Regions from separate parts of the Homo sapiens genome. Here regions 1, 2, 3, 4, 6 and 7 are each linked to region 5. The links are contacts of gene promoters, found by promoter capture Hi-C in blood cells and fetal thymus (Javierre and others, 2016). All regions are on one chromosome and are shown on one strand. The core of a region is centred on a gene start or on the middle of the fragment in contact, and the rest is flanking DNA. Distances in the headings are between cores, read along the strand shown. Region 1 overlaps LOC102723334 (a long non-coding RNA gene). Region 2 has its middle 15 kb from the start of PPIA. Region 3 overlaps CCM2 (CCM2 scaffold protein). Region 4 holds the start of MYO1G (myosin IG). Region 5 holds the start of POLM (DNA polymerase mu). Region 6 has its middle 4.9 kb from the start of H2AZ2-DT. Region 7 holds the start of PURB (purine rich element binding protein B).

The links. Contacts are between HindIII fragments. The CHiCAGO score rates a contact against its expected background, and 5 or more counts as called.
Region 1: a fragment that was not itself captured here is called in contact with the fragment with the promoter of POLM in region 5 in 1 of 17 cell types (naive B cells); the score reaches 5.3 in naive B cells.
Region 2: a fragment that was not itself captured here is called in contact with the fragment with the promoter of POLM in region 5 in 1 of 17 cell types (non-activated CD4 T cells); the score reaches 5.2 in non-activated CD4 T cells.
Region 3: a contact is called between a fragment that was not itself captured here and the fragment with the promoter of POLM in region 5, in 2 of 17 cell types (monocytes and total B cells). The highest score is 7.3, in monocytes.
Region 4: the fragment with the promoter of MYO1G here is called in contact with the fragment with the promoter of POLM in region 5 in 3 of 17 cell types (monocytes, fetal thymus and total B cells); the score reaches 11.4 in monocytes.
Region 6: a contact is called between a fragment that was not itself captured here and the fragment with the promoter of POLM in region 5, in 2 of 17 cell types (neutrophils and monocytes). The highest score is 6.8, in neutrophils.
Region 7: a contact is called between the fragment with the promoter of PURB here and the fragment with the promoter of POLM in region 5, in 4 of 17 cell types (fetal thymus, neutrophils, monocytes and 1 more). The highest score is 7.9, in fetal thymus.

Annotation. Positions count from the first base shown.
Region 1 is chr7:44,994,929-44,998,329 of GRCh38, reverse strand. LOC102723334 (a long non-coding RNA gene) reads left to right here. Exons shown (of 4, transcript XR_428139.4): 3 at 3,186-3,301. Among named protein-coding and RNA genes, the nearest start is that of CCM2, 3.6 kb to the left of the region's middle. RefSeq lists enhancers at 3,051-3,100, 3,121-3,180, 3,221-3,270, 3,351-3,400. The HindIII fragment of the contact is 2,431 bases long and covers 260-2,690 here.
Region 2 is chr7:44,809,548-44,813,295 of GRCh38, reverse strand. No RefSeq gene overlaps it. Among named protein-coding and RNA genes, the nearest start is that of PPIA, 15 kb to the right of the region's middle. The HindIII fragment of the contact is 991 bases long and covers 1,162-2,152 here.
Region 3 is chr7:45,023,807-45,027,255 of GRCh38, reverse strand. All of the region lies in intron 1 of CCM2 (CCM2 scaffold protein), which reads right to left. Among named protein-coding and RNA genes, the nearest start is that of CCM2, 25 kb to the right of the region's middle. RefSeq lists a silencer at 90-159. The HindIII fragment of the contact is 9,674 bases long and covers 1-3,449 here.
Region 4 is chr7:44,976,626-44,980,318 of GRCh38, reverse strand. MYO1G (myosin IG) reads left to right here and starts at 1,304. Exons shown (of 22, transcript NM_033054.3): 1 at 1,304-1,452; 2 at 3,248-3,456; 3 at 3,662-3,693. The coding sequence starts at 1,358. RefSeq lists enhancers at 922-971, 1,002-1,071 and a silencer at 1,272-1,361. The HindIII fragment of the contact is 4,854 bases long and covers 731-3,693 here.
Region 5 is chr7:44,081,280-44,084,582 of GRCh38, reverse strand. It overlaps POLM (DNA polymerase mu), which reads left to right and starts at 2,053. Exons shown (of 11, transcript NM_013284.4): 1 at 2,053-2,332. The coding sequence starts at 2,145. RefSeq lists a silencer at 1,488-2,067 and an enhancer at 1,779-2,279. The HindIII fragment of the contact is 8,170 bases long and covers 1-3,303 here.
Region 6 is chr7:44,851,579-44,855,178 of GRCh38, reverse strand. No RefSeq gene overlaps it. Among named protein-coding and RNA genes, the nearest start is that of H2AZ2-DT, 4.9 kb to the right of the region's middle. The HindIII fragment of the contact is 3,414 bases long and covers 76-3,489 here.
Region 7 is chr7:44,883,955-44,887,364 of GRCh38, reverse strand. It overlaps PURB (purine rich element binding protein B), which reads left to right and starts at 1,835. Exons shown (of 1, transcript NM_033224.5): 1 at 1,835-3,410. The coding sequence starts at 2,017. The coding sequence ends at 2,955. RefSeq lists enhancers at 1,406-1,655, 1,804-2,763 and silencers at 1,646-2,005, 2,296-2,345. The HindIII fragment of the contact is 4,558 bases long and covers 1-2,885 here.

The sequences.
Region 1 (3,401 bases), core at 226-2,725, 910 kb before region 5:
GAAGCCTCCAGGGATGTCCTCATTTGAGGCTGTTGGCCTGGGGAAGCAAGGGGCAGGGCATCCCAAGTGATTGGTTAGGGGCACATATTTGTCTTTCTCTGGTTGCTCCTAAGCTGGAAGCAGGACCGAAAACTAGGAAAGCTGCCAGTTTTTTTTTAATTGACAAATAATTTTTTGTTTCTTTTGTATTTTTAGAGATAAAGTCTCACTCTGTCCTTCAGGTTAGAGTGCAGTGATGCAGTCATGGCTCACTGAAGCTTCAACCTCCTGGGCTCAAGCAATCCTCCCATCTCAGCCTCCCAAGTAGCTGGGACTACAAGGACGCATCACCAAGCCTGGCTAATTTTAGTATATTTTTGTTGAGACAAGGTCACACTATGTTGCCCAGGCTGGTCTCAAACTCCTAGGCTCAAGCAATCCTCCCTCCTCAGCCTCCCAAAGTGCTGGGATTATAGGCATGAGCCATCGCACCCAGCTAACACATAATAATTGTACATATTTATGAGGTACATGTGATTTGTGTGTGTGTGTGAGGCAGAGTCTCACTCTGTCACCCAGGCTGGAGTGCAGTGGCATGATTTCAGCTCACTGCAACCTCTGCCTCCCAGGTTCAAGCAATTCTCCTGCCTCAGCTTCCCAAGTAGCTGGGATTACAGGCATGCACCACCACACCAGGCTAATTTTTTTTTTTTTTTTTTTTTTGAGACAGAGTCTTACTCTGTATTGCCCAGGCTGTAGTGCAGTGGTGCAATCTCAGCTCACTGCAACATCCACCCCCCAGTTTCAAGCGATTCTCCTGCCTCCGGAGTAGCTGGAATTACAGGTGCCCACTACCACGCCCGGCTAATTTCTGTATTTTTAGTAGAGACAGGGTTTCACCATGTTGCCCAGGCTGGTCTCGAACTCCTGGCCTCATGTGATCTGTCCACCTTAGCCTCCCAAAGTGCTGAGATTACAGGCATGAGCCACTGCACCCGGCCAAAATACATGTGATATTTTGATACATGCATATGATGTGTAATAATAAAATCAGGGTATTTAGGATATTCGTCACCTGAACACTTATTTCTTTGTGTTGGAGACATTTCAGATCTCTCCTAGCTATTCTGAAATATACAGTACATTGTTATTAACTATAGTCATCTTACTCTGCTATGGAACATTAGAATTTAGGCTGGGTGTGGTGGCTCAAACCCGTAATCCGAGCACTTGGAGAGGCTAAGCTGGGAAGATCACGTGAACCCAGGAATTGGAGACCAGCCTGGGCAATATAGTGAGATCCTTCTTCTACAAAAAATACAAAAATTAGCTGGGCATAGTGGTGTGCACCTGTGGTCCCAGCTACTCAGGGGCCTGAAGTGGGGTCCTTGAGCCCAGGAGGTCGAGGCTGCAGTGAGCTGTCATTGCACCACTGCACTCCAGCCTGGGCAACAAGCCAGATCTGTCTCACACACACACACACACACACACACACACACACACCCATGAGAAATTATTGCTTCTATTTAGCTGTATGTTTGTACACGCTAACCAACCTCTCTTCAGCCCCCTACTTTCCCCCAACACACACCCTTCCCAGCCTCTGGTGGCTATCATCCCAGTCTCTATCTCAATGAGATGAATATTTGTTTAGCTCCCACATATGAGTGAGTAAATGCAATACTTGTCTTTGTTTTTTTGTTTAAAAAAAAATTTACAGGGATGAGGTCACTATGTTGCCCAGGCTGGTCTCCAACTCCTAGGTTCAAGCCATCCTCCCACTTCAGCCTCCCAAGTATTGGGATTACAGGCTTACATAGTGACCTCTAGCTCTATTTATGTTGCTGCAAATGACATTTTCATTTTTTTTTCCTATGGCCAAATAGTATTCTATTGTGTATATATACTAATTTTTTTTGACATGAGGTCTCACTCTGTCACCCAGGCTGGAGTGCAGTGGTATGATCACTGCTCACTACAGCCTTGATCTCATAGACTCAAGAGATCCTCCCACCTCAGCCTCCCCAGTAGCTGGAACCACAGGTGTCTGCTATCACACCTGGCTAATTTTTTTACTTTTTGTAGAGATGAGGTCTCTATGTTGCCCAGGCTGCTCTCAAATTCCTGGGCTCAAGCAATCCTCGCGCCTCAGCCTCCCAAAGTGCTGGGATTATAGGCTTGAGTCACCACGCTCAACCTTATTTTTTGTCTTTTTTTTTTTTTTAGAGACAGGGCTTCCCTCTGTTACCCAGGCTGGAGTGCAGTGGCATGATCTTAGCTCACCGCAGCTTGAGCTAAGGAGCTGGGCTCCTGGGCTCAATGGATCCTCCCACCTCAGCCTCCTAAGTAGCTGGGACTGCAGGTGCGCCAACACCCTTATTTTTTGCCTTTTTGATAATAACCATTCTAAATGGGGTGAAATGGTATCTCATTGTGGTTTTGATTTGCATTTCCCTGATGACTCATGATATTGAGTATTTTTTTATATGTACCTATTTGTTTTTTGTACATCTTCTTTTGAGAAATGTCTACTCAGATTCTTCGCCCACTTTTTAATGGATTATTTGTGGTTTTTTGCTGTCAAGTTGTTTGAGTTCCTTGTATATTCTGGATATTAGTCCCTTGCCGCATGAATAGTTTGCAAATATTTTCTCCCATTCTAAAGGTTGTCTTTTCACTCAGTTGATTGTTTCCATTGCTGTGCAGAAGCTTTTTAGTTTCGCTTAATATAGTCCCATTTGTCTATTTTTGGTTTTGTTGCCTATGCTTTTGAAATTTTAGCCATAAAATCTTTGCCTCGTTCAATGTCTTGAAGCATTTCCCCTATGTTTTCTTCTAGTAGTTTTGTAGTTTCAGGTCTTATGTTTAAGTCTTTAATCCATTTTGAGTTGATTTTTGTATCTGGTGAGAGATAGGGTGCCAGTTATTAATTAAGTCCTAGGCTTTGGGGGCTGTTAGAAAAGTTACTCCTGGATTGTCACTAGAGATAACACCTGGCTTCCTGCAAGTATGACTTACAGCAGGCTTGTTTCCTGGGCTGGTTGCTGTAGATAACGAATTGGTTTCCTGAGGAGGTTTCTGCAGGTTGTCAGTCAGAGTTCTAGTTGTACAAATGGTCCAGCCATTGTCTATTTGTATATTCAGTCTCTCGTAACAGACACCAATGAGACAATTATAACATAAAACAATCTTTTCTTTCTCTCCAGGTCACACCTTGGCTGTAAAGTGTCCTAACAGCCACCTACTTATGATTACTGCTTTCTTACCAATAACCTCCCCAGCCTGTTGTGTGGCTCCTACATCTTGAACAAAAGCGACCAAGGTACCCAATTACTAAACTGCCCACACTTCATGAAAGCAACTTTATAGCCATGATACTCACTTCCCCTTGTCCCCTCTTCAGAATTACTCAGGGCCAGCCC
Region 2 (3,748 bases), core at 408-2,907, 730 kb before region 5:
TTGGTCAGGCTGGTGGTCTCAAACTCCCAACCTCAGGTGATCCGCCTGCCATGGCCTCCCAAAGTGCTGGGATTACAGGCGTGAAGCACTGCGCCCTGCCGTATTTTTTTTGAGACAGTCTTGCTCTGTTGTCCAGGCTGGAGTGCAGTGGTGCAATCATGGCTCACTGCAGCCATGACCTCCTGGGCTCAACCAATCCTCCTGCCTCAGCTTCCTGAGTAGCTAGGACTACAGGCATAAGCCATCATATCCTCCTCTTTCATTTAAAGTAATCCTGTCATTAAAGCAGATTTACTTTTCACCACTGACATTACTATCCTGGCCCAAGCCCCTTTCCTCACTCCTGGATGATGCAGTAGTCTCCAGATTTCACTCCGCCACATAGTCTATCCTCAACAGACTTCAGTCAAAGTGACCTTTTTAAGAATGGTGGCTTAGGCCGGGCGCGGTGGCTGATGTCTGTAATCCCAGCACTTTGGGAGGCTGAAGTTGGCAGATCACCTGAGGTCAGGAGTTCAAGACCAGCCTGGCCAACATGGCGAAACCCCGTCTCTACTAAAAAATACAAAAAATTAGCCGGGCGTGGTGGTGGGCGCCTGTAATCCCAGCTAGTTGGGAGACTGAGGCAGTAGAATTGCTTGAACCTGGGAGGTGGAAGCTGCAGTGAGCCGAGATCACGCCACTGTACTCCAGAGTGGGTGACACAGCAAGACTCCGTCTCGGGGGGGAAAAAAAAGGTAGCTCTGTTGGGCACAGTGGCTCATACCTGTAATCCCAGCACTTTGGGAGGCCGAGTCAGGTGAATCACCTGAGGTCAGGAGTTCAAGACCAGCTTGGCCAACATGCCAAAACCCTGTCTCCAATAAATATACAAAAATTAGCTGGGTGTGGTGGCGCTCGCCTGTAATCCCAGCTACTCGGGAGGCTAAGGTAGGAGAATCACTTGAACCCGGGAGGTGGAGGCTGCAGTGAGCCGAGATTGCGCCACTACACTCTAGCCTGGATGACAGAGTGAGACTCTGTCTCAAAAAAAAAAAAAAAAAAAAAAAAAGAAGAAGAACGGTGGCTCATGCCTGTAGTCCTAGCACTTTGGGAGACCAAGGCAGGCGGATTGCTTCAGCCCAGGAGTCTGAGACCAGCCTGGGCAACATGGTGAAAGCTTGTCTCTACAAAAAATTTTAAAAGAATTTTTTGGCCAGGAGTGGTGGGTCACACCTGTAATCCCAGCACTTTGGGAGGCTAAGGCAGGCGGATCACTTACGGTCAGGACTTTGAGACCAGCCTGGCCCACATGGTGAAACCCTGCCTCTACTAAAAATACAAAAACTAGTCGGGCGTGGTGGTTCACTCCTATAGTCCCAGCTACTTAGGAGGCTTGAGACACAACAATCGCTTGAACCTGGGAAGCGGAGGTTGCAGTGAGCTGAGATAACACCAGTGCACTCCAGCCTGGACAACCAAGCAAGACTCTGTCTCAAAAAAATTTTTTTTTAATATTAGCCAGGTGTGGTGGGTGGCACATGCCTGTAGTTCCAGCTACCAGGAGGCTGAGATAGGAGAATCGCCTGAGGCCAGGAGGTCGAGGCTGCAGTGAGCTGAGATCAGTTCATTCCAGCCTTGGCAACAGAGCAAGACCCTATCTAAAAAAAAAAAAAAAGTTAGGCAAATGCTGTCACTCCTCTGCTCAAACTTCTATAGATATATGGATCCTATTTGGATGTAAATTCAAATAAGGCAACTGGGAAAACAATTATTTAATATATTGAATAAAAATACATAAGTCCATAGTGACAGGAGGAGGGAGGGATCAGAAGGGTACTTTACAACTGCAAAAGGGAATAATTGATTCAGACAAATATAATTAATGCCAAAACACAACAATCAGGTGAAAAGGCTCTCTTCTTGGAAAGAGGGTCTTTATGCAGAGGCAAAATATCACCCCTCAAGATTACCTAATTTTCAGAAAAGGGAAAAGATACCTTTCCAGTGGAGCAGTCTGGCAGGCATTACCTTAACTGCAAGTTCAAATTTAGCCTCACTGATGAGTCAGCCTGAGACTTTGTGCCTCCTGATGTGAGGCAAGATTAAGTACACAAAGTATCACCTATGAAATCTTCCTGCTAAATATGATGAATTTGAATCCAATTAAGCTTCTAGGCCTAGTGTAATTTCCAATTTACAGAAAATACAGGAGCTAAAAGAGAAAAACAGGAAACAATTAGCTCCAGAATAATGGACATTCCACAAAGTCAATGTCCTGAACTCTTTGTTTTATTTGTTTCTTTATTTTATTTATTTATTTATTTTTGAGATGGAGTTTTACTCTTGTCGCCCAGCCTAAAGTGCAATGGCACGATCTCAGCTCACTGCAACCTCCACCTCCCAGGTTCAAGCAATTCTCCTGTCTCAGCCTCCTGAGTAGCTGGGATTACAGGCATGTGCCACCACGCCCGGCTAATTTTTTATTTTTTAGTAGAGATGGGGTTTCACCATGTTGGCCAGGCTGGTCCTGAACTCCTGACCTCAGATAATTCACCTGCCTCGGCCTGGAATTGCAGGCGTGAGCCACCGCACCCAGCTGTTTTATTTCTTTTGGAGACAAGGTCTGGCTCTATCACCCAGGCTGGAGTGCAGTGGCACAATCACGTCTCACTGCAAACTCCACGTCTCACTGCAAACTCCACCTCTCAGGCTCAAGGGATTCTCCCACCTCAGCCACCTGAGTAGCTGGGACCACAGGCTCGCATCCAGTGTGACCACAGGCTCACACCTGGCTAATTTTTGTATTTTTTGTAAAGATGGGGTTTCACTATGTTGCCCAGGCTGGTCTCCAACTCATGAGCTCAAGCAATCTACCTGCCTTGGCCTCCCAAAGTGCTGGGATTACAGGAGTGAGCCACCGTGCCCAGCTGTCCTGAACTTTTTTTTTTTCTTTGATACACAGTCTCGCTCTGTCTCCAGGCTGGAGTGCAGTGGCATCTGCCTCCCAGGTTCAAGTGATTCCCCTGCCTCAGCCTCTTGAGTAGCTGGGACTACAGGTGCGTGCCACCACCCCCGGCTAATTTTTTGTATTTTAGTAGAGACAGTGTTTCACCATGTTGGCCAGGTTGGTCTCGATCTCCTGACCTTGTGATCCACCTGCCTCAGCCTCCCAAAGTGCTGGGATTACAGGCGTGAGCCACTGCGCCCAGCCTGTCCTGAACTTTTAAAAGAGTCAACATCGGCTGGGCGCAGTGGCTCACGCCTGTAATCCCAGCACTTTGGGAGGCCGAGTTTGGAGGATCACTTGAACTCAAGAGTTCGAGACCGACCTGGACAACATCGTGAAACCCCCTCTCTACTAAAAATACAAAAATTAGCTGGGCGTGGTGGCATCAGCCTCTAATCCCAGCTACTTGGGAGGCTGCGGAAGGAGAATTACTTGAACCTGGGAGGCGGAGGTTGCAGTGAGTGAAGATCGCCCATTGCACTCCAGCCTGGGTGACAGAGTGAGACTCTGTCTTAAAAAAAAAAAAAAAAAAAGAGGCCGGGCGCGGTGGCTCACGCCTGTAATCTCAGCACTTTGGGAGGCCGAGGCGGGCGGATCACGAGGTCAGGAGATCGAGACCATCCTGGCTAACAAGGTGAAACCCCGTCTCTACTGAAAATACAGAAAATTAGCCGGGCTTGGTAGCGGGCGCCTGTAGTCCCAGCTACTCGGGAGGCTGAGGCAGGAGAATGGCGTGAACCTGGGAGGCGGAGCTTGCAG
Region 3 (3,449 bases), core at 950-3,449, 940 kb before region 5:
GGTGGAAACACGCGACAAGGCTGTTCCAGTTACCCCATTTGCAGTGCTTGCTCAAAGGCAGCAAGATCTTTACAGAGATAACTCCATTCCCAGGTGGGGCTTGGGCAGGGCACACCGGGCTCTACGGGTCCTCAGCCTACAAGTGCCTCTACCTGCCTCCAGGACTCATGAGTTTGAGTCAGCAGCACTTTGAAATTAAACAGCGTGCCTCTGGCCAAGCTCACTTCTTCAAGGCAAATTTCCTAATCTAGAAAAGCAGAAGTTGGATCTGTTGCTGGTGAAGGCTCTTAGAACTCTGATAATTCCAGAATGGCTTGCAAATAGGGAGGGCTACTTAATTAAATATTCTGGTTGGCTGGGTGCGGTGGCTCATGTCTGTAATCCCAGCACTTTAGAAGGCTGAGGCAGGTGGATCACCTGAGGTAAGAAGTTCGACACCAGCCTGGCCAACACGGTGAAACCCCGTCTCTACTGAAAGTAGAAAAATTAGCCGGGCGTGGTGATGGGCACCTGTTATCCCAGCTACTTGGGAGGCTGAGGCAGGAGAATCGCTTGAACCTGGGAGGCAGAGGTTCCAGTAAGAAAAGATAGCACCATTGCACTCCAGCCTGGGTAACAGAGTGAGACTCCATCTCAAAAAAAAAAAAAAAAAAAAAAATCTGGTTAGAGTGACTATATTCACAGATCAATAAATAAACATAACAATTACAATATAATTTTTTAAATATTAGGTTGAACCAAATCAAAGTGCTGATTTTCAACAGTGTTTTGGCTATAAAAATGGTACTTTCATACAATTCTATTTCATTAACCTGTAACAAATAAAGTTTAATATTTCCTGATTCCAAAAAGACTGATTGCTTCAGAATAAAATTTAGTGCTTCAATTATTATTCCATATACCACAGATGTAGAAACTGTCATAAAGTTGGAAAAGCAGCATCAGAACTAGATTTGAGTCAATATCCGGTATTAACTGGACTGTCACTTTCTGTCTTTAAAAACCAGAGTAGAGTCACAATTTCAGATTGCTCCTTCCTAAAAGTTGCCTATACAGGGCAGAACCAGCTGACCCTGACCTTCAGGTAGGCTCAAAGGGAAAAAGGCAAACCAGGAGGGAGATACAGAAAGAGGTGCCACTCAGCTGAGCAGCCTCACCTCTATTTTGGCTACTGCAGGGAGGGGAAGGATTCCAGGGAAATAGACATGACTAAAAAGAAAACCCACATGCTCTGAACACTAGTCAACCCCAACCTTCCCTCACAAACACAGTGATCCCCACGGTCAGCATGAGAGAGAAAAGCCAAAGAACAAATGGGAAGAGACAGGCACAGGAACCTACATTCTAGCTAGTATACTTAGAGACACTTGAGAAGAACTGCATCCATAAAATAAGACTAGATAGCTATGAAAAAGAGAAAACGGCCGGGTGCAGTGGCTCCCGCCTGTAATCCCAGCGTTTTGGAAGGCTGAGGTGGGCAGATCACCTGAGGTTAGAAGTTTGAGACCAGACTGACCAATATGGAGAAACCCCGTCTCTACCAAAAACACAAAATTAGCTGGGCGTGATGGCGCATGCCTGTTAATCCCAGCTATTCGGGAGGCTGAAGCACGAGAATCACTTGAACCCAGGAGGCGGAGGTTGCGGTGAGGTGAGATCACGCCATTGCACTCCAGCCTGGGCAACAAGAGTGAAACTCCATCTCAAAAAAAAAAAAAAAAGAAAAAGAGAGAACAGAGAACAAGAAATATATCTTAGAAATTACAAATATGACTGCCAAAATAAAAAATTCGTAGAATAATAACAAGGACATAGCGGAGAGCCCAAAGAATGATGTGAAGGAGAACTGCGGGGTTGGCCAATGCCTGCCTGCTGCTGATGGCCACAGCTGCAAATGTTTTACAGATGAACATTTGCCACCAATTCGATAAAGGGAATCACCAACTTTGAACCCTGATTAAGCAAAATGTTAGCCCCCAAAAAGAATTCCATTCTCAGTAGTAGAACCATATTACAAAAAATTGTACTCAATTATTATACCTTGAATTTCATCAATAAAAAAATTTACGAAAATTTGCTTTCTCTCTTATATAAGTACCTACTTAATGGCCTCAATTTTGCCCCCTGGCCCACACAGCCTGAAATATTTACTGTCTGGTCCTTTACATGAAGTTTGCCAACCCTGTCTTAGAACATAAAGTGAAAAGGTAAAAAGTTTAACATGAGAAAAATTAAAGGCCACAGAAGCTGGGTCCATCGAGTCTAACAGTTTCCTAAGAGGAGAATAAGAGCAGGCAGAATCAAAGAGGGACACAAATATCAGAAGACAACAACGATGAACTCAATTTTATGGACAGAAAAAGCACAGTAACAAGTAGGCTGAATGTAAGAGACAAACCCTCAACATTTAGACTCATCTTCACAAAACTGCAGAATTTCAAGAGAATCTTAGGTTTCCAATAAGAAAATGCAAAAAAAAGTACCTGTAAAAGCAGTAAGACTCAGATCAGCATCAGATGTATCCTGATAAATGGGAATATGGTAATCCCTTTAAAATTCTGTGTGGAAATTAATTTAAATCTGGAAGTTAATTTAAAACCAAACTGTCAATCAAGGTGCAAAATAGTTATTTTCACACCTGCAGTGCCTTGGGATCTTTACACTCTAAAAACCCCCTTTTGAAAAACATACTAGAGGATCTACTCCCAGCAAAACGAGGATCATCCAAGAGAGAAAAAGATGTGGACTCCAAGAAACAGTGGAACCAACCCAGGAAGCAGAGAAAAGAAATCCCAGGGTGACAATGACAGTGTTCAGCAAGCAAACAAAGGAAAATCTGTAAGATTCCATTATGTAAACTAAGAGCCTAGAAGTTCTTGACGATAAAAACATGTTTCTTGGGCCTTGACTAAGGGCTGGCCTGGACATGCAGAGATGAAACTCCACAATGCCTACAGGTAATCATTTAATGTTTGACTGACTGCTGAATGGTGATGCCAGAAGTTATTATCAGCTGAAGAGTCTTTCCTGAACATTATAATCAGCTGAAGAGACTTTGCTGAACTGGCTACTCAGTAGAAATCCAAAAAGTCCACACTTTAGGTGTAAGGAAAACACCCAGAACTAAATTCAAAACTGATACAGAGGCCGGGTGCGGTGGCTCATGCCTGTAATCCCAGCACTTTGGGAGGCCAAGGCAGGAGGATCACCTGATGTCGGGAATTCGAGACCAGCCTGACCAGCATGGAGAAACCCCCAACTCTACTAAAAATACAAAATTAGCAGGGCGTGGTGGCACATGTCTGTAACCCCAGCTACTACGGAGACTGAGGCAGGAGGATCACTTGAACCTGGGAGGCAGAGGTTGCAGTGAGCCAAGATTGTGCCATTGCACTCCAGCCTGGGCAACAAGAGCAAAACTCTGTCTCATAAAAAAAAAAAAAAAAAAA
Region 4 (3,693 bases), core at 55-2,554, 900 kb before region 5:
GGAATGCATTTGCTTTAAGGTATTCGAGAGAAAAAAATAAACTTAACTTGCCTATCCATTACTTCAAAGTTTAAAAAATGGGATGACTGAAAGACAATAGTTAAACTAGTGCTTATGAGTACAACAAATCTCAAAGGCAGCACATGAATGACTGAAGTTTGGGAATTCTGGAGTCTGCCCTTTGACCTCCCTGTATGAGGGAAGGGGTGAAAGAGAAATGTCACCAGTCTATTTGTAGGATGAGAGAGAACTGCATCCATTTGACCTTTGATGAGAGAATCGCCCCAGTGTTCCTAGAGGATGGGTGTGACCTGCCCCAGTCTGTCCTGGGATGAAAAAGAACTTTTTCCAGTCTGCCTGGAAGCTAAGAGAACTGCACCCCTCCCACTTCTTCCAGGAGCACTAAGTGTCAGGAATGCAGTGTCTGGAGATTTTGGCCACTCCCTAAATGCAGCCGCTCCCCAAATGCGCTGCCTCATCTTCAAAGTGCAGGGACAGCAGCTCTGAGATGAGGCCACAGGGCTCCAGGCATGTTCCTGGTCCTCACTGCAGTTTATGGGGGATCGGCTGGACACAAGTACAAGGCAGAGGACAGTTAGGGGCACAGGGGTCCCACTGAAGGCCAGCCCCATGCAGAGGATGCTCTGGGGTCCTCTGTCCCTCCCCCGTGGCTGGGGTGGGGAATTGCAGTGCTAGGACCACTGGCCCTTGGCAGGTCACACAAGAAGCTTTGCTCGTCTACACCCCAGTGTGGCCTTCACACTGCAAAGAAGGCTGTTGCCCCCACCCCAAAGGCCTGGGCATTAGGATCCTTTTTCATTTTTGTATTAATGTACAATGTACATACAGTATATTGCATCTAGTGTTCAGTTCTGACTTGAGAGACACACACAGCCAGGTAACCAAGATCACGTCAAAAAATCTTTCTTTAAAGTCCCACAAGTGACTCTAACGTGCTGCCAGGGTTGGAAGCCAACCCACGGAGTCTTGTCTCCTGCTTGTGGGTGGAGGGGAGCTTCCGAAGGAGGCCAGCGAAGAACCCTCCAAAGCGGGGAGGACCCAGCATCCGGCCCCTCGCCCCTGGCGTGCAAACGGGTCAGACCGTTAGGCACAGCCTCCTTGTGGGGCGCAGGGACAGGAAGCAGGGTTTAGAGCACCTCGAGGGGGAAGGAGTGGCAAGTGCGGAGGGCAGCCCCTCCCAGGACTAGAACCCACTTCCTACTTTACACCAGCACTGGAGGAGGCTGGTGGGGCAGGGCGGGGGCGGTGGGGCCTCCCCTAGCCTTCCCTCCCCCTCTCCTTCACTGTCCTTCCAGCAGGCACAGGAAGGTGAGGCAAGGTGTTTCCAGCCGGCAGGATGGAGGACGAGGAAGGCCCTGAGTATGGCAAACCTGACTTTGTGCTTTTGGACCAAGTGACCATGGAGGACTTCATGAGGAACCTGCAGCTCAGGTAGGCCCAGGGCAGGAGGCAGTGGCTCCCCTCCTCCAGGGTCTCCCACCTTGCGTCCTCGCAGAGACCTGAGGGAAAGAGGAAGGCACGCTGCTGTCCAAGGGAGGGGGCAGTGGCACACACCCACCCAGACCAGATGGGGCTGAAATGAGTGCCTCAAAGCACGGCCCCAGGGGACAGGAACAGACAAGGAGGCAACTGTCCCTGTCAGGGCTGGCAAGTCAGCACCGGAGCTGCCCACCACCTCAACCCACCCCTGCCTCCCACACAGTCCAGGCATCTTCTGCCCCTTCTTTCCTGCCCGACGGGGCCAGGGCATGACACTTCTTGGACAGATACATACCAGGCACTATCTTTCCAGGAGGGACCAGGGGCACCTCCCTCCAGCCACTTCCCAGCCAGTTGTTGATGCTCCCTCGATGCATCTCATCCATGGGGCCTGGCCTGAGCCCTGGGGACACTGAGATGAAGCAGTCAGGCTCCACCCTAGGGTCCAAACATTCCCACCAAGTTGAGGTGACATTCTCCTGGGGTACATGGAGTATCACAGGACACAGTTGGTAGAAGTGATATTGGAGCCCAATTTACCATCAAGGAGGGCAGGTGGAGGGCAGGGAGAAGCCCGGGAGGTAGGGGCATGGCACAGTAGGGTGGCCATACAGGCAGCTGGGCTTCCTGCCAGGACTCCCAGGGAGGGGCAGAAGGCCACTCGCTGTGTACTCCGGAAGCTCCCTGGGGAGAGCTTGGGGACCAGGATCCCCACTAAGCACCGAAGGCAAGAGACCACGAGCCTGGCTCAAAGAGGAGGGCTAGCCAGGACGTGAGCTAAGCACTTTGTGCACATTGTTCTACCTCATTCTTATAAAATGAGCTTATGAAACATTGTCCTCTCTATTTTGATGAGGAGAACACTGAGCCCTGGAGACGTGGGTGACTTGTGCCCTCATCCCCAGCTTGTAGGAGGATGGGAGCTAGGCCCAGGAAAACCCATGTCAGAGGTGGTGGAGAAAGAGGAACCTCAGGACAGGCCCACCCAGGACAGGCTGCCGGGAGACAGGGCCATCCAGGGAAGGGTGGGTACCACACACCAAGGGGAGATGGGTCTGAGGGGCAGGCCTGCCAGTCCTCCTCCCAGGGGCAGAAAGGTCAAGAGAAGGGCAGACATCCACCCCCACTGGGGACCAGGTTTGTGAAGGAAAGGGTCAAGAAGTCTGAGGCTGTGCCAGGGGAGAGGCAGCAGCCACTGGCCACAGGCTGGGGGGTCGGGGGTGTAAAGACAACGACATCAACTCCCTCCCTGTCATCTGGGTGGGGCTGGGTGGGGTCCCCTTTTGTCTCTGGGTTCCCGCCCAGGCCTTGAGACAGGAAACAGCCGAGGAGGCCCCTCCTTCCCCTCCCAGCCCAGTCACTTCTCAACCCCATCTCCCCATCTGCCCTGCGGGGTTCACCCCAGGAGCCAGCCCTGACTCACGGCACCCAGTGCAGTCTTGGGCAAGTCTGTTTCCTTTGCAAAATGAGTGGTCATGTTTCCAGTGACCTTGGGATCCCTGGGGAGACCACTGTGGACCCCAAACTCTATGCCGCAATGGAGACAGTCTCTGAGTGGCTCAGCTCACCCAGGATGGCACCAGGGAGACGCAAGGTCAACACCTGCCCCCTTCTTCCTTCTCCACTCTCAGCCCGTCAGGGTGGGAGCGCTGGCCTACTGGGGCCAGGCCCTGATATGGGCTCTGGCGAAAGGCCTGTGGGTGCCTGTAAGCCTGTGAGTGCTGAGGCCTACCCCTGCTGTGTCCAGGTTCGAGAAGGGCCGCATCTACACCTACATCGGTGAGGTGCTGGTGTCCGTGAACCCCTACCAGGAGCTGCCCCTGTATGGGCCTGAGGCCATCGCCAGGTACCAGGGCCGTGAGCTCTATGAGCGGCCACCCCATCTCTATGCTGTGGCCAACGCCGCCTACAAGGCAATGAAGCACCGGTCCAGGGACACCTGCATCGTCATCTCAGGTACCTGTCCCTGCCGCCGGGCCCCCACCCTCGGCATCTTCATTTGTGAACATTTGGGAGGGCCATTAGAGCATCTCCTGTGCCCTGTGTCCTGATGGGGGCCCTAGGACCCCATCTTGCCAGTCTTGGGGGTGTGAGTGGGCACAGGGAGCTGGGCTAAGAGAGCGAACCTGGCTGATTCTCTCAACTCTGGTCTTTCCGGCAGGGGAGAGTGGGGCAGGGAAGACAGAAGCCAGT
Region 5 (3,303 bases), core at 804-3,303:
ATCTTCATGAATCCTTCAGCCCCATGTTGTCCTAGCAGACACTTTGCAGCAACCACTCAGAGGGCCTGGCTGATTTCTAAGCTAGGCAGTTTCTTCCACTGTCATTTGGATGAGATTCCTTGCACAAACATTTTTGCACAGTTGCCCAGTGTTTTAAGTATTCAGGTCTCATAGTCTTAAAAACTGCCTCTGCCTTCCCAGGAGAGAACAAGGGCTCCAAGGGGAGCCCAGGTGCTCTGGCCAGACAGAGGACATTAAAAGGAACAGAAATGGTTTTAGACAGCTAGAGGGATCTGCTCAGGGGATATTTGGGCAGAGCCTCCTCCTTGAGAAGGGTAGGAGCCAGATCCACAGACGAAGACCCTTAGAGCCTGCCCATCCCTGCTGGCACAAGGGGAGGATGGGGAGAGAGGGACCATACGCAGGCCTCCTGGCTTCTGTATGTGGGTCCTGAGGCCCAGGAAGCTCTACAGCCCTGAAGAGGTAGATGAATTAGGAGGCTGGGAGATGGTGTAGGAGGTCAAGAGGATGCCTGGGCTGAGCCATCTCCCCCACTCCCCTCAGCCCTGTGCTCTGAGTGCAGAGATGGGGAAGAGCCAGCCCACTAAAGATGTCAGAGAGGAGCCAAAGAAAAAGGATAGGTGCTCAAGGAGTCTGGGGCTCAAGACTGAGGACGATGGGGCAGTGATGAGGAGAGGCATGTGGAAGGGGGTTGCATCTGATCTGGTGTCCCATCAGTTAGGCTGAGCAGTGCCACACTACCGTAACAGAGGTTACAAATGGAGTATATCTAAATAAGATAGACAGAAGACTTGATATTATCAAGACATCAGATTTCCCCAGCTTGATCTATAGATTCAATGCAATCCCAATCTTGGGAAAGGAATTGCTGGATCAATGTGTATTATTTTGTTTTCATTTTGTTGGATGTGGTTGCCACATTGGCTTCCACAGTCCTTCCTATGGATTGCCAATTACCTCGCACCTTCAACATGTGTGGTCAATTTTTTTGAATGTTTGATAAACCCACAACTGAAGATATTCTCATTTAGGTATTCTGTAACGACTGGACAGGTTGGGCACTCTGGTCATAAATTTATTGACCAGGATTTCTTCTAAGAATCATCTACGTGAGTTTTTTTGCTAATTTTTCTATTAAATTATTGTCTTTTTATCTATGGACAATTTGATAAGATTATCATGAGATAATCTTAATTCCAAAATATCTCACACTTTATCCCAGTTTATCTTCTGACTCTAATTTTTAATCAGATTTAAAATTTGTCTGTAGTCCAGTTTATCATTCTTTTCCTTTAGTGTTTCCAAGTTTATTGTGATATTTAGATCATAAAAACATTCACCGACTTTTTTCCAGTACGTTGTTGGTTTCCTTTTTAGATGGAAATGTTTGACCCATCTGGAATTTATTTTGGTGTTAAGGAATGAGGAAGGGCACCAACTTCTATTTTTCCAAATGGCCTGCCAGTTGTCCTAATGCCATTCGACTGAAAAATCTTCCCGCGTGTTTGAAGCGACCGCCCCACCAGCGCATTGGAAACCCGCGTGTCGGTCCTGCGCCCGCCGGCTTCCGTGTGACAGTCCCGAGCGCAGAGGGATCGGGCACAGCCCGCACGCGTCCGCCCCGAGCCGCCGGCTCAACCCTAGACCCAGCCCCGGCGCCAAGGACACAGCCCACCCCGCTCCGCCCGGGCCTAGGTCCCAGTTCACCCTCCCTAGCCGGGGACGCCCCCTTGACCCCGCCTCCTCCACCCCCTCCAACACCCTCCCCGCCCCGCTCCAGCCCAGCCTCTCCTCCCGGAGGCCAATGGGGCCGAACAGCGCTTTCCGAGACATTAATTTAAATAAAAGGCGGGTCCTCTGCCGTTATTTGCATGGAGGCGGGTCTTCCGGAGCGGCCGGGACACCCAATCCTGTAGGAGCCCGGACCCTCCCCAGCGCTCCGACTGGCCCAAGTAGCGAGCCCCACGGAGAGGCCTCATTTGCATAGGGCGGGGCCACGTCCTCTTCCAGCCGGCGGCCGCCCGCCCGCCCACCCGCTTCCGTCAGCCTCACTGGGGCTTCCTTCCGTCTCGCTCGGAGTTTCCCTCTGCGTTCGCTCCGCGCTGCTGGAGGCTGTCGTCCCAATGCTCCCCAAACGGCGGCGAGCGCGGGTCGGGTCCCCTAGCGGCGATGCCGCTTCCTCCACGCCGCCCTCGACGCGCTTCCCGGGAGTCGCCATCTACCTGGTCGAGCCTCGCATGGGTCGCAGCCGCCGGGCCTTCCTCACAGGCCTGGCGCGCTCCAAAGGCTTCCGCGTCCTTGACGCCTGCAGGTGCGGGGCGGCGCGGCGCGGCGAGGGCTTCCATGGCACTTCTGGTTTTGGATTCTAAGTTTGCAGTGGCACTTCGTGGTCTTGTGACCTTTCCCTGAGCCTCCATCTCCTCTTCTGTAAAGGGTGCTATTAATTAGGGCGAGGCGTGTTTTAAAGGATCACTGCGAGAATCAAAACCAGAGGTCAGGGGTAATTAATAAGCAGTAGGCCGGGCGCGGTGGCTCACGCCTGTAATCCCAGCACTTTGGGAGGCCGAGGCGGGCAGATCACGAGGTCAGGAGATCGAGACCATCCTGGCTAACACGGTGAAACCCCGTCTCTACTAAAAATACAAAAAATTAACCGGAGGTGGTGGCGGGCACCTGTAGTCCCAGCTACTCGGGAGGCTGAGGCAGGAGAATGGCATGAACCTGGGAGGCGGAGCTTGCAGTGAGCCGAGATCGCGCCACTGCACTCCAGCCTGGGCGACAGAGTGAGACTCTGTCTCAAAAAAAAAAAAAAAAAAAGTCGTATTTGCTAACAGCCCTTCTGCCTGGGCTATGTCCCACCTGTGAGCGAGACTGACTTCTCAAGAGGCCCGGAGCCCGCAGGCTCCTCTGTCCTCAGGCCTGAGTAAATAACACGACTGAGAAGCTCTTGTAGGAAGGGAACCAAGAGAAGAAAAAATGGCGGCTACAGAGACAACACCCAGAGTAAGGGAGCTGGGGGTGCCCCCTAGTTTGGAGGTTGAGAGAGCAAACGAACCTGGGGCTAGTATTCCCCCACAGTTGTGTTTGATTTTTTAACATTACCAGGGATCAGTAGTGCGCCAGACCCACTCAGGAGAGGATGATAGCAGCTTAGAGTGTACAAGGCACTATCTTTGTACAACAACCCCACAGGGTGGATATGTTATCTCTGCTTTACAGAAGAGGAAATCAAAGTATAGACACGTGGCTTGCCCAAGAGCCAAACAAGTATGTGGCAGGCAG
Region 6 (3,600 bases), core at 533-3,032, 770 kb before region 5:
TGAGCTGAGATTGCGCCATTGCACTGCAGCCTGGGTGGCAGAGTAAAATCCCTTCTCAATAAAAAGCAAAAAGCTTACAGAATATGGATATGAAGAAATAAAACATTTTGTGCAGTCATACAAGGTATTTGTGTTTTAAGCTAAGTGTTTTACAAAAACTCAAAAAAATTTTTTAATGTAAAGGTTTATAAAGTTAAAAAGTTATGGTAAGCTAAGGTTAACTTATTATTGAAGAAAAATATTTTTATAAATTTAGAGGAGCCTATGCACACTGTTCATAGTCTCCAGTACTATACAGTATAAAGTCCTAGGCCTTCACATTCATTCACCACCCACTCACTGAATCATTCAAAGCAACTTCCAGTCCTGCAAGCTCCATTTATGGTAAGTGCCCTATACAAGTGTACTATTTTGTATCTTTTTTGGGGTTTTTGTTTGTTGGTTTGTTTTTTGAGACAGAGTTTCGCTCTTGTTGCTCAGGCTGGAGTGCAATGGCACGATCTCGGCTCACTGCGACCTCTGCCTCCCAGGTTCAAGCGATTCTCCTGCCTCAGCCTCCCCAGTAGCTGGGATTACAGGCATGTGCCACCACACCCAGCTAATTTTTGTATTTTTAGTAAAGATGGGGTTTCACCATGTTGGCCAGGCTAATCACGAACTACTGACCTCAGGTGATCTGCCCACCTCAGCTTCCCAAAGTGTTGGGATTATAGGCATGAGCCACCCCAGCCCAGCCTTGTATCTTTTATACTGTATTTTTACTGTTCCTTTTCTATGTTTAGGTATACAAATACTTACCATTATGTTACAGTAGTATTCAGCACTAGTAACATGCTGTACAGATTTGTAGCCTAGGAACAACAGGCTATGCCATATAGCTAGGTGTCTAGTAGGCTATATATACCATCTAGGTTTGTGTAAGTACACTCTATAATGTGAGCATGATGATGAAATTTCCTAATGACACATTTCTCAGAAGGTATCCCCATCAGTAAGCAATGCATGACTGTACTTTAAAAAGGAGAATTTGGCTATCCTTTACAAAAGTAGCCAAAAGAGGCCGGGCGCGGTGGCTCACGCCTGTAATCCCAGCACTTTGGGAGGCCAAGGCGGGTGGATCACGAGGTCAGGATATCGAGACCATCCTGGCTAACACGGTGAAACCCCGTCTCTACTAAAAATACAAAAAAAAATTAGCTGGGCGTGGTAGCGGGGGCCTGTAGTCCCAGCTACTCGGGAGGCTGAGGCAGGAGAATGGCGTGAACCTCGGAGGCGGAGCTTGCAGTGAGCCGAGATCGCGCCACTGCACTCCAGCCTGGGCGACAGAGCGAGACTCCGTCTCAAAAAAAAAAAAAAAGGAATAGCCAAAAGAAAATTTCTGTCTCTTACAGTCTTTGTGATATTTTGAAGAGCACTGCAGCATTAAAATGGAATTTAAAAGTGAACACAGGGATAAAAAGCTCCTGCAATCTATGTATAGTAATCTTTAAGTCTGAAGTCTCTAAATGCTAACACACTTCACTGTATCAGCAACACCTCTGCAGAGGTGAAACTGATGACTAAGGGCAAGGATGGGAGGAGTTTGTGTGTCTGTGTGTATGAGTCTTGCTCTCACTCAGGCTGGAAGGCAGTGGCACAATCACAGCTCATTGCATCCTTAAATTCCTGGGCTCAAGTGATCCTTCTCCCTCAGCCTCCTGAGTAGCTGGGACTACATGTGCACGCCACCATGCCTGGCTTATTTTCTTAATTTTTTTATTTTTTGAGACGGAGTCTTGCTGTGTCGCCCAGGCTGGAGTGCAGTGGCGCAATCTCGGCTCACTGCAGGCTCCGCCTCCCGGGTTCATGCCATTCTCCTGCCTCAGCCTCCCGAGTAGCTGGGACTACAGGCGCCCGCCACTACGCCCGGCTAATATTTTGTATTTTTAGTAGAGACGGGGTTTCACCGCGTTAGCCAGGATGGTCTCGATCTCCTGACCTCGTGATCTGCCTGCTTCGGCCTCCCAAAGTGCTGGGATTACAGGCGTGAGCCACCGCGCCCGGCTTATTTTTTTTATTTTTCACAGAGATGTGGGTCTCACTATGTCACCCACACTGGTCTCGAACTCCTGGGCTCAAGCGATCCTCCTGCCTTAACCTCTAAAGTGCTGAGATTACAGGCATGAGCCACTGCACCAGGGGAGTCTTTTCACTGTATACCCTTTGTACATTTTGAAATTTTGTACGTGTGAATATCTTGCCTACTCAAAAATTGACTACATTTTTGCAGAGAAAAGTCATTGTCTTAGTTCAGGTTTCCCAGGAAACAAATGGGATTTGCTTTCAAGAGGTAATAGTATGGAATGCTCTTGGGGACATTACTAGGAGAAAATAGAGGAAGTAGGATTACGCAGAAGTTGAACTTCAATGCAGTTAGATCAAGTCAAAACTAATCACACAAGAAACTCTGGAGCTGGAATGGCCCTTCAGAATTGTCTCAAATTAAGGCAAAAGAGCTAGGCACTATATCCTACATCCACCAGTCACTGGAGGTAGGCCCCCTAAAAAGGAGTGTAAACTTGGGCGATACAGCTTCCTTTGGCCAAGTCCAATTCCTGGGTAGAGATCCCTGAGTAATGATCAGTCAACACTTCCAGGAGCTAAATAAGTGCTCCAGTTTTTTTGTTTTTGTTTTTTTGAGACAGAGTCTTGCTCTGTTGCCCAGGCTGGAGTGCAGTGGCGTCATCTCGGCTCATTGCAACTTCCACCTCCTGGGTTCAAGTGATTCTCCTGCCTCAGCCTCCCAGAGTAGCTGGGACTACAAGCGCATGCCACTACACCCAGCTAATTTTTGTTTTAGTAGAGATGGGGTTTCACCATGTTGGCCAAGCTGGTCTGGAACTCCTGACCTCAGGTGATCTGCCCACCTCAGCCTCCCAAAGTTCTGAGATTACAGGGATGAGCTACCACACCTGGCCAAGTGCTCCAGTTTTATAAGGAATACGTGGGCTCTGGACTGTGCACTGCAGCATATACTATACCAGTGGTTCTTAAATTTCAGTATGCACCAGAATCCCCTGGAGCGCTTGTAGGTCCCACCCTCAGTGTCAGATTCAGCAGGTCTGGGGTGGTGGTGAGAATACATTTCTAACAAGTTCCAAGTGATGCTGATGCTGGTGGTCTAAGGATCACACTTTGAGAACAATTATACTATATATTACTGGGTTAAATCCAGCAACATTGAATAATTTTTTTTTTAGAGATACAGTCTGGTTCTGTTGCCTGTCTGGTGAGCAGTGACACAATCATACATAGCTCACTGCAGCCTTGAACTCGTGGGCTCAAGTTCTCTACCCACCTCAGCCTCTCAACTAGCTGGGATCACAGGCATGTGCCACACACTCAGCTAATTTTTTTCTTTTAATTTTTGTAGAAGTGGAGTCTTGCCATGTTGCCCAGGCTGGTCTCAAACTCCTGCCCTGGTGACTCATGCCTTGGCCTCCCAAAGCTTTAGGATTACAGGCATGAGCTACCATCCCCAGCCCAAAGTTGAATAATTTGTCAATGTTTGTAGTTTATCATTTATAGATGCTAATACATAACATTTTCTGGTTAGACTGG
Region 7 (3,410 bases), core at 586-3,085, 800 kb before region 5:
TCTACTAAAATACAAAAAATGAGCTGGGTATGGCTATAGTCCCAGCTACTTAGGAGGCTGAAGCAGGAGAATTGCTTGAACCCAGGAGGCAGAGGTTGCAGTGAGCCAAGATTGTTCCACTGCACCCCAACCTGGGCAACAGAGCAAGACTGCTCAAAAAAAAAAAAAAAGTGGAAATGTTGGGTCTTATTTTATGAAAGGTATATAAGAAACTGCCAAACTGTTTCCCAAAGCATTTATACCATTTTATATCCTTACTAGCAATGTATGAGTTCCAGTTTCTTCACATCCTTCTCAACACTTGATGTTACATTTTTTAATTTTAGCCATTCTAGTTGGTATTTCATTCTGACTTTAATTTATATTTCCCTAATGATGAATAATGTTGAGCACTGTTTCATGTGCTTACTGGCTTTTTTGACGAAGTGTCTGTTAAAATCTTTCACCTTTTATATTGGGTTATCTATTATTTGTGTTCTTTACAAGTCCATTGTTGGATTCACTATCTATGAATAACTACATTTAGGCTGGGTGTGGTGGCTCACATCTGTAATCCCAGCACTTTGGGAGGCTGAGGCGGGCAGATCACCTGAGGTCAGGAGTTCAAGACCAGCCTGGCCAACATTGTGGAACCCCATCTCTACTAAAAATACAAAAATTAGCCGGGTGTGGTGGCGGTTGCCTGTAATCCCAGCTACTCAGGAGGCTGAGGTAGGAGAATTGCTTGAACCCGGGAGGTGGAGGGTGTAATGAGCTAAAATCACGCCACTGCACTCCAGCCTGGGTGACAGAGCAAGACTCAAAAAAAAAAAAAAAAAAATTTAAGGATGAGGACATTTTGGCTTTGGAAAATCAAGTAACTGGTCAAGGTCACAGATTCAAACCCAGTGCAGTTGCAGAGCCTACACTTTTTAACACTATTCCAATTCTGCCTCTTGTTACACCTCAATGCTTACAACAAAAAGACCTCATAGGAATTATTCATTTTATTGATAAAGAAACTAAAGATTGGCAGTCAATTTCCTTAACCACTTTAATATGGCTAACTGTGGGGACAGTTAACTGATCTCTGGATCCCAAATCTAACCTCATCCTAAATCATCTTCTTTCTATATTGTTCCCACAGTGATCTTTCCAAAATGTGAACCTGATCACATACGGTGGCTCCAGACTCTGGGGTAGGCACTAACTCTCCCGCACTGCAAATGGCTTTCCTTGATCTAATCCACCCTCCAGTGTCATCTACGACCATTCTTCAGGCATACACACCCCCAGCTGCTCTGAGCTCCCAGCATCAGGCCCTGGGTGCCTCTGCACTGCCGTCTCCTATGCTGGGTGGCTCTTCTCCAGAGTTGCCAGGCCAACTGCAGTTTGCCCTTCAGAGTCAGCTCATGCCTCCTCTAGGGAACCCCACAGGCTGGTCAGAACCCGCTTCCGAGTGCTCCAAAGGATCTCCCTCCCCCCGGTCGCCAGTGTATAGACTGGAACTCTGTTCCCAGCACACAACCAGCGCGAGCAGGCTGGGGCCTGAGTATGCTCAGCTAACGCCCCGGAAGCGAGAAGGAGGGAAGTGGACGACACCGGAGTCTAAAGTAAAAGTGTCACGGGAAGAGGCGCGTAGACAGACGCAGCGGGCGGCTGAGTCACGCTAAGGCTGGCAAGTCCCCAGGGCTAGAAACCGAGCAGTAACACTAGCCTACTCTCAGCTTGCCGCCCGCCCGGCGCGGCCCCTGACGTCACCCCTCTGCGCCACGCCGCCGCGGCGCTTCCGGCCGCGAGGCCGCGGAGGGCGGGACGGAGTGACTTCACGGGAAATCGCGCGCCGGAAGTGGCTAGGGCTGCACGGAAGTCGCGGGGGCGGGGCGCGGAGGCGATGGGGGGGCGGCGGCGGCCGGCGATGAGCGGCGGGAGCGCGTGAGCGAGCCGGGCGGGCGAGGCTGGGGGGCCCCGGAGCGCGAGCCGGAGGGCGGGGGCGCGAGCGCGGCGGGCGGTGGCGGCGAGGCGGCGGCCTAGAAGATGGCGGACGGCGACAGCGGCAGCGAGCGCGGCGGCGGCGGTGGGCCGTGCGGGTTCCAGCCCGCGTCCCGCGGCGGCGGCGAGCAAGAGACGCAGGAGCTGGCCTCGAAGCGGCTGGACATCCAGAACAAGCGCTTCTACTTAGATGTGAAGCAGAACGCCAAGGGCCGCTTCCTCAAGATCGCCGAGGTGGGCGCGGGCGGTTCCAAGAGCCGCCTCACGCTGTCCATGGCGGTGGCCGCCGAGTTCCGCGACTCGCTGGGCGACTTCATAGAACACTACGCGCAGCTGGGCCCTAGCAGCCCCGAGCAGCTGGCGGCTGGCGCCGAGGAGGGCGGCGGGCCGCGGCGCGCGCTCAAGAGCGAATTCTTGGTGCGTGAGAACCGCAAGTACTACCTGGACCTCAAGGAGAACCAGCGCGGCCGCTTCCTGCGCATCCGCCAAACGGTCAACCGCGGCGGTGGCGGCTTCGGCGCGGGCCCCGGGCCGGGCGGCTTGCAGAGCGGCCAGACCATCGCGCTGCCTGCGCAGGGCCTCATCGAGTTCCGCGACGCGCTGGCGAAGCTCATAGACGACTACGGAGGCGAGGACGACGAGCTGGCAGGCGGCCCGGGAGGCGGCGCCGGGGGCCCAGGGGGCGGCCTGTATGGAGAGCTCCCGGAGGGCACCTCCATCACCGTGGACTCCAAGCGCTTCTTCTTCGATGTGGGCTGCAACAAATACGGGGTGTTTCTGCGAGTGAGCGAGGTGAAGCCGTCCTACCGCAATGCCATCACCGTACCCTTCAAAGCCTGGGGCAAGTTCGGAGGCGCCTTTTGCCGGTATGCGGATGAGATGAAAGAAATCCAGGAACGACAGAGGGATAAGCTTTATGAGCGACGTGGTGGGGGCAGCGGCGGCGGCGAAGAGTCAGAGGGTGAGGAGGTGGATGAGGATTGAAACGGGCAGCTTCCCCTACAGGCCTCCACCCAACCACCATCCCCTTGGCTAGAGAATTCCCTTTCCTGCTCATCCCCAGTGAGCTAGTGGAGAGGGAGCAAGGGAGGCCGCAGAGGGAAAAAACAAAACGTAACACAGTTAAGAGAAATAATCGTAAGAGAACAGTGACGGACAACTTGAGAAAAGCAGTCAAGTTCCAAGGAACTGACAGCAACCTGCAAAGAGGAAAACAGCATCTCCTCACCTGCGTAAAATTGTCTCAGCTTCTGTTGTTTCTCAACTGAGGTTCGTAAACCCATCAGGATAATCCCTGGAGGGAATAGATCCTTGCACATCCAGGGCAAGAAACATGTCCAAGTTACCCAGACCATTGATAACAGTTGCATTTAGGTTGCACCTGGGTAATCTGGCATAAAAGATCTCTCTAGGCCTCACTGTTGCGGTGTCTATCCCTT